2 separate regions of the Homo sapiens genome follow, and region 1 is linked to region 2. The links are contacts of gene promoters, found by promoter capture Hi-C in human tissues and cell types (Jung and others, 2019). All regions are on one chromosome and are shown on one strand. Each heading gives the region's core, a stretch centred on a gene start or on the middle of the fragment in contact. The rest is flanking DNA. Distances are from core to core; before and after follow the strand shown.

Region 1 (3,658 bases), core at 1,147-3,646, 610 kb after region 2:
AATGAGGAAATCTGATCAGCACTGGGTAACAGCCATGATGCAACAGTCAGTCTGGACATGGTAGACAGAGGAAGGTGAGGATTTTGAGGCAAAGAATTCAAAGACTACCTGTTGATGTTTTCCATCAGAGAGTAGATGAGTCTTTCCAGAAGTTCCTATAAGAACTATCAAGCCATCTGCCTGGGCTTGATGGTGACTCCTGGGAAAATAAAGTCGTGCTGATGAAGACAGGAATAACATCAAGTGAGGTTCATACACACAGTAGGGTGTTTTGGCTTTCAGTGTCCATGCCCAGTGTGGGGTAGATGCTCTGGTTCTTACTGGTTGGAGTGGGACTGGCATCGAGGTGGTGGCATAGGGAGCTACAGCCTGGAAGACAGCCAGAGGGGGCAATAAGAGGGTAGGCGAGGCCGGACACAGTGGCTCACGCCTGTAATCCCAGCACTTTGGGAGGCCGAGGCAGGCAGATCACCTGAGGTCAGGAGTTCAAGACCAGCCTGACCAACATGGAAAAAACCCGTCTCTACTAAAAATACAAAATTAGCCAGCGTGATGGCGCATGCCTGTAATCCCAGCTACTCGGGATACTGAGTCCAGAGAATCACTTGAACCCGGGAGGCAGAGGTTGTGGTGAGCCGAGATCATGCCATTGCACTCCAACATGGGCAACAAGAGTGAAAGTCCATCTCAAAAAAAAAAAAAAAAAAAAAGGTAGGCAAGAAGGCATTTCTAAGTTCCACTCTGGTCCCCGTTCTGCAAGGCTTGGTGCAGCCATTGCCTGGCCCTTCAGGACAGGCAGCTGCTCCTGGTGTCTGAAATAATGTCACGGCAATCCATGATTCCTGCCAGGGTGAGGATTTGATAAAAACAGGTGAGGACAGAGCATTCAACCCCAGTCACTCACCCACAGACACCCACAGCCCTGGGATCTGAGGAGACCGGCTCTGCCCAAGACTGCTTTTCCCTGGGGGGTTGGTGGTACAACTCTGAAGAATGCAGTTGCCAGGTGAAGAGACAAAAATCCAGTGAATCTGAGATCTGGAGGTCTTCAACCTAGGGTCCATTTCTCTCCTTCCATTAAACGCAGGGATGGACATGGGCATGGCCTTTGACCCTTCCCAAGAACACATTTCCAGAGGGAGTAACCAAAACCCCATTCTCATGGGGTTCTGAGCTCATAGGCCAATGTAACCAGATTCCTGAGGACAACTACCATGAAACAAAGCCAGCTAGGTAAGCATCATTTCGTGTCTGAAGCAGAAATATTGGAAGAGGAGGACAAAAATTTTAAAGAGCATAGTAGTATATATACATAAGATAAAGAAAGAAATGGCAAAAATTATTTGCAAGAATGAGAAAATATTTTCTTAAAAAAAGAGAAAGGGCAAAGGATTTGAATAGACATTTCTCCAAGGAAAATACACAGGTAGCCAATAAGCACATGAAAAAATGCTCAAGATCCTTAGTCATTAGGGATACACACATCAAACCCACAATGAAATACAATTTCACACTCACTAGAATGGCTATTATAGAAAACAACCACAACAACAACAACAGAACATAGCAAGTGTTGGTGAGGATGTTGAGACATTAGAACCCTTGTGCATAACTGGTGGAAATATAAAATGGTATAGCCATGTGAAAAATAGTATGACAGTTCCTCAAAAACTTGAACATAAAATTACCATTTCACCCAGCAATTCCACTTCTGGGTATATATTCTCAAAAGAACTGAAGGGACTTGAACAGATATTTGTACACCCATGTGATAGCAGCATTATTCACAATAAGGAATATTGTTTTCACCAAAGGGTGGAAACAACCTATGTGTCCATCAGTGAATGAATGGATAAGCAAGTTGTGCTATATACACACAATGAAAAATCACTCAGCCTATTGCCATGATCTGTTTCTATTCCCGACACTTATGACACCAAATGAATGGGTTTTTTTCCACATCAACCACCAATTCTCTAACTCTCCAGAAACCAACTGGATATACAATGACTCAATTCAATTCTGACACTATTTTCTGGAGTTAGCATCAGACAGGCTATGGGCTCAGTCCCACAAGACTGCTCCCACTTCAGACACCAATCCCAAGGGTGGGCCTCCTGTACTTATGACCAACAAGCTGTAAATCAGTGGTCCTCACAATGCCCTCCTCTGGTTCAATAATCTGCTAGAAGAGGTCACAGAACTCAGGAAGGCACATACCTACTATTACCACCTTCTCATAAAGGATATGACTCAAAAGCAGCTAAATGGAAGAGATGCACAGAGCATGGTATCCGGGAAGGGGGAGAAGCTTCCACGCCTTCTCTGAGTGGATTCCCTTCCCAGTACCTCAATGTGTTCACCAACTCAGAATCTCGCTGAACCCCATTGTTTAGGATTTTCATGGAGGTTCCGTTATGAAGGTATGACTGATTAAATCGTTGGTTCTAGGTGACTGATTAATTTCCAGTCCCTCTCTCCTCTCTGGAGATTGGGGATTGAAGCTGAAAGTTCCAACCCTCTAGTAATACCTTGGTCTTTCTGGAGGCCAGCCCTCCTCCTAAAGGTATCTAGGGGCGCCCATCCACCAATCATCTCATTAGCCTACAGAAAGACACTCATCTGGTGATACAAGGGCCTTAGATGCTCTTACGTCAGGAACCAAAGACTAAGACCAAATATCCTAACAAAAGATCTTTCTATCACCCCATCAGTCAGGAAATTGCAAGGGTTTTAGGAGCTCGCTGCCAGGACATAAACCAAGTATGTATGTATATAATATCACAATATCACACAGTCTTAAAAAGAAAGAAATCCTGATGCATGCGCCCACATGAATGAACCTTGAAAACATGCTAAGTGAAGAGAGCCAGTCACAAAAGAATAAGTACTGAATGATTCCACTTGTATGAGGTACCTAAGGCAGTCAGATTCAAAAGGACAGATGATACAACGGTGATTGCCAGGGGCTGGAGGGAAGGAGGAGTGGTGAGTTATTGTTTAATGGACATAGAGTTTCAGTTTGGGATAATGAAAGAGTTCTGGAGAGGAAGGTGGTGATAGTTGCACGATGTGAATATCCTTACTGCTATAAGGGAGGGAAAAATGCTTTCCTCTACTGTCTTACATTCTATAGTGAGGGTCTGTGAATTAAGCTGAAAAAAGACAGATTAACAGGGGGAAAGGCATATAGATTTTACTTGATGTAATTTTCATTTTCATGTGCACATGGAGGCCTTCACAGAAAAGAAATGAGGATCCAAAGAGACAGGTAGACCTGAGGGCTTATATGCCGCTGTAACTGTGCACCCAAAAGTATCCGAGACAGATCTCAATCAATTTAGAAAGTTTATTTTGCCAAGGTTAAGGCTGTGCCCTGACACAGTCTCAGGAGGTCCTCAAGACATGTGCCCAAGATGGTGATGGTAGGGGCACAGCTTGCTTTTTTTTTTTGGAGACTGAGCCTCACTCTATCGCCCAGGCTGGAGTGCAGTAGCACGATCTTGGCTTACTGCAACCTCCGCCTCCCAGGTTCAAGCAATTCTCATGCCTCAGCCTCTTGAGTAGCTGGGACTACAGGTGTGCACCACCACACCCAGCTAATTTATTTGTATTTTTAGTAGAGATGGGGTTTCGCCATGTTGGCCAGGCTGGTCTT
Region 2 (3,994 bases), core at 1,283-3,782:
CGGCTAATTTTTGTATTTATAGAAGAGACAGGGTTGCGCCATGATGGTCAGGCTGGTCTCAAACTCCTGACCTCAATCAAGTGAGCCTCCTGCCTCAGCCTCCCAAAGTGCTGAGATTATAGGTGTGAGCCACCATGCCCGGCCTTCTATAAAGTATTCTTGAAATAGCTGCCTCACAGGCAGATGTGGAAAAGCACCTGTAGTTTACAACTAATTCAGTTATTATTTTTTCTTCCTCTGCTGTGCTGCTATTGTGTGTTAGACACACTCTAATTTAGTACTTATGCTTTCTGCTTATGTATCTCCCCCAGGCTAGTAGCCCCTGGAACACAAGGTAAGGCCCCATCAGATTCAGTTCTTCCCTCAACACCTACCCTACTGCTTGGCCCATGAGAGATGCTTCAAAAAAAAAAATGTGCAAAAGATTATGTCTTGGGGAAAAGCCAGGTCACAGGCACAATAAGTGTGAGGATTGTGCCATTTCCCCGACTCTCCCCAGCTCTGTGCTCATGCTCTTTCTTTAGCCTGGACCACTTGCTACTCCGTCCTGATCCACACCCCACCTTTACTTGCCCAACCCCAACTCTGGTTGTAGAGAATCTAGTCGTCCTTGAAGAATCTTCCTAAAGATCTGAATGCCAAATTAATTAATCAGTTGTGGAGTCAAAGCCTGCCTCTACCACTGCCTACTAGGACCTTGAGTAAATTTTTGTAATCCTGCTGATCTTAATTTTGCTGATCTGCAAATTGGGCAGAAAAATACCTATCTTTCAGTTTTGATATGAGATTTACATAAGCAAATGCATGTGGAATGCCAAACACATAGCAGATGCTGAATAAATGCCTTCAAATGGCCATTTCTAACGGCTCTGGGAAATTCTCCATTCTGCAACAATATGCAGTCTTCTCGAGACCTCCGCTACGTTCTCTTTTTTTCTCATCGTTTATTTAGCAAACATTAATAGAGCATGTTTTATTTGCCAGACACTTTGCTAGATGATAGAGATACAAAGATTAGAAGCCAGGCATGGGTGTCTCACGCCTATAACTCCAGCACCTTGGGAGGCTGAGGCAGGAGGATTGCTTAAGGTAAGGAGTTCAAAAAATAAAATAAAATAAAACATAAAAAAAAATTAGCCAGGCATGGTGGCATGCACCTGTACTCTCAGCTACTTGGGAGTCTTAGCTGGGAGATCACTTGAGGCCAGGAGTTTGACGCTACAGTGAATTATGACCGTGACACTGCCCTCCAGCCTGGGTGACAGAAAAAAAAAAAAAAAGATTAGAGAAGGCCTCTGACCTCACAGTCTAGTGGGGAACCAGCTTCTTCGGGGATTTTTCCCTGCCTCACCTCGCCCACCTCAGGCTGTGTAGAAACCCCCAGTCTAACCAGTTGTTTCCCTCCAACTCTGTACATACCACGGTGTGTTGCCTTTTTATTTCAAACATGTGCTGGCCTCTGTTCTAATCACAGCAACCTGTATCCATTAATCCATTTAATCCTCACAACAACCTTATCAGGTAAGTATTGTCATTATTTGCATTTTCCAAATAAGGAAACTGAGGCACAGACAGATTAAGTAACTGGCTTAATAAGGTCTTCTAGTTTATACGTAGAGGCAGCCAGGACTTGAAAACACACCTTCTGGCTCCAGCTAAATTAACATGCTCTGTTTACTTATCTGTCCCCACTGAAATTGGAGGTTGAACCCGTGGCATATTCAAACGAATAAGTATCGCCTGTGCCCACCCCAATATCTGACACTATAGGTCAACGATAACTCATTCGTCAAACAGGAAGGAGGAAGGAAGGAAGGAAGGAAGGAAGGAAGGAAGGCAGGCAGGCAGGCAGGCGGGCAGGCAGAGGTAAAACGATTCCACAATGGTGTGGTTGCTCACATTTACTAAGCATCAACACTGACCTGCCTGTAAGATGCGCTAACAGAGCTCACGAATAAATGAAGGCTGGGTGTGGTAGCTCACGCCTATAATCCCAGCACTTGAGAGGCCAAGGTGGGAGGACGGCTTGAGCCCCAGAGTTCAGGACCAGCCGGGGCAATATACTGAGACCCTGTCTCTACTAAAATTAAAATTAAAAATTAGCCAGGCACAGTGGCGCGCGCATGTAGTCCCAGCTACTTGGGAGGCTGAGGTGGAGGATCGCTTGAGCCCGGGAATTCAAGGCTGCAGTGAGCCCTGACCACGCCACTGCACTCCAGCCTGGGCGACCAAAAAAAAAATTAAAATAAAAAAAAGGAATAAATGAACATCTCTGCGGCTCAGAACTTTCAGTTATCACCTCAGAACTTTCAGTTATCACCGTCGAGAATTCCAGGCGACCGCTGGGTTTTCCCGGTTGCCTCTTTTCTCTCACCCCTGTTCCCTTCCTCTGGAATTCGGCTCCACCTCTTCCTTTTCCTTTGCCAGCCTCTCCGTGGATTCCGCGGTCCGGGTTTCCCGGGCGGCAGCCGCCGGGAGAGGATCGGTGCGTGGGAGCGCTCCGGCAGCGGCGGGCATGCGCAGAGGGGGGCGGTGTACTGCGCATGCGGGAAGATGGCGGGCCGGGCGACTTGAGATCCGCGGGTCTCCCTCCTCTTTTTCCGTCTGCGTCGGGAGCTCCCGGGCACGTGAGGCCGTGCCGCGTTTACTGGCGGGCGGGACGGCCTAGCCGGGCGGCGCCTCGGAGGAAGCCGCGGACCCCTTAGGTGCTGGGCCCTTGGAAATCGGCGCGTGGGGGGCGGTGCTCGAGCTGAGCGCGAGAGGGCGGGAGAGCTCGTGGGGTGCGAGGGGAGCAGGACGCCCGGCCGGGCAGCATGAGTCAGCAGCGGCCGGCGAGGAAGTTACCCAGTCTCCTCCTGGACCCGACGGAGGAGACGGTTCGCCGTCGGTGCCGAGACCCCATCAACGTGGAGGGCCTGCTGGTAAGCTCCGGGACGGGACGGGGACGGGCGGTGGTCTCCCAAATCCGGCCCCCTCCTCCCCGCGCCGCCGCCAACCCCGCTGGCCGTCGTCTGGGTCGTCTGCTCCCCCTGGGCCAGGCGCTGCCCATCACGTGCTGCGAACTGCGCTCTCCCGCCTTCTGCTTTCAGCATCTGCTCACAGACGTGGTATCAGTCTTCTAGGCTTTTACATCGGAACTTCAGAGCACTGTTGGAGAAAATTGCTCAACTTTGCATTAGAGAGTCCATGTTTATCTCCTTCTATGGACTCTAGCTGTATCTCTGCAACCTATCATTTGTTTTTCTGCCTCCTCTCCCATCCTTCTGCTCTACTGCAGCCGTTTAAAACCTTGTCCACGCTTTATATTTCCCACGCCACAGCTCCCATTCATCAAATTATCTCCCCACCTGTTTGACAGAGAAAATGGTTAGGAAATTTGGCTCCCTTTCCTGCAAAGGCTGATTTCTTCTCTTGTTCAGGACCAGATGCTGTATTCCCCGCGGTTATCAGGGCCCTCAACAAATGCATTTTCTTTTTCTTTTCTTTCTTTTTTTTCTTTTTTTTTTTTTTTTTTGAGATTGAGTTTTACTTTTGTTCCCCAGGCTGGAGTGCAATGGCGCAATCTCAGCTCACTGCAACCCCCACCTCCCAGGTTCAAGAGATTCTCCTGCTTCAGCCTCCCATGTAGCTGGGATCACAGGCATGCGCCACCACACCCAGCTAATTTTGTATTTTTAGTAGAGACGGGATTTCGCCGTGTTGGCCAGGCTGGTCTCGAACTCCTGACGACCTCAGGTGATCCACCGAGCCCGACCTCTCCCCGTATTTTCAATTTCTCTGCTGCTTTCTTTCTATAACTAGTAGTAATTAAACATTTTCCCAAGTCATTATGCCTGGTTCCCCTACCAAATAGTTTGTGATTATTGCCTCATTTAATTTCTCATTTCTCACAGCAGTGTTTTATAATACTAAAAGATTATTATTCTTGTTTCACGGTTGCCAAAACAGACTTGGAGATGCATGTAACGCCGGCTTGCCTGTGGCTGGATAATAA

Evidence for each region. Contacts are between HindIII fragments. The study calls those that stand out against the background at their distance.
Region 1: a fragment that was not itself captured here is called in contact with the fragment with the promoter of E2F6 in region 2 in 2 of the 25 tissues and cell types used here (IMR-90 fibroblasts and aorta).

What each region holds. Positions count from the first base shown.
Region 1 is chr2:10,851,051-10,854,708 of GRCh38, reverse strand. LOC124905973 (a long non-coding RNA gene) reads left to right here and starts at 2,279. Exons shown (of 3, transcript XR_007086215.1): 1 at 2,279-2,423. The HindIII fragment of the contact is 7,119 bases long and covers 1-3,658 here.
Region 2 is chr2:11,464,699-11,468,692 of GRCh38, reverse strand. E2F6 (E2F transcription factor 6) reads left to right here and starts at 2,532. Exons shown (of 7, transcript NM_198256.4): 1 at 2,532-2,921. The coding sequence starts at 2,814. RefSeq lists enhancers at 1,717-1,796, 2,224-2,780, 2,781-3,338. The HindIII fragment of the contact is 18,503 bases long and covers 1-3,994 here.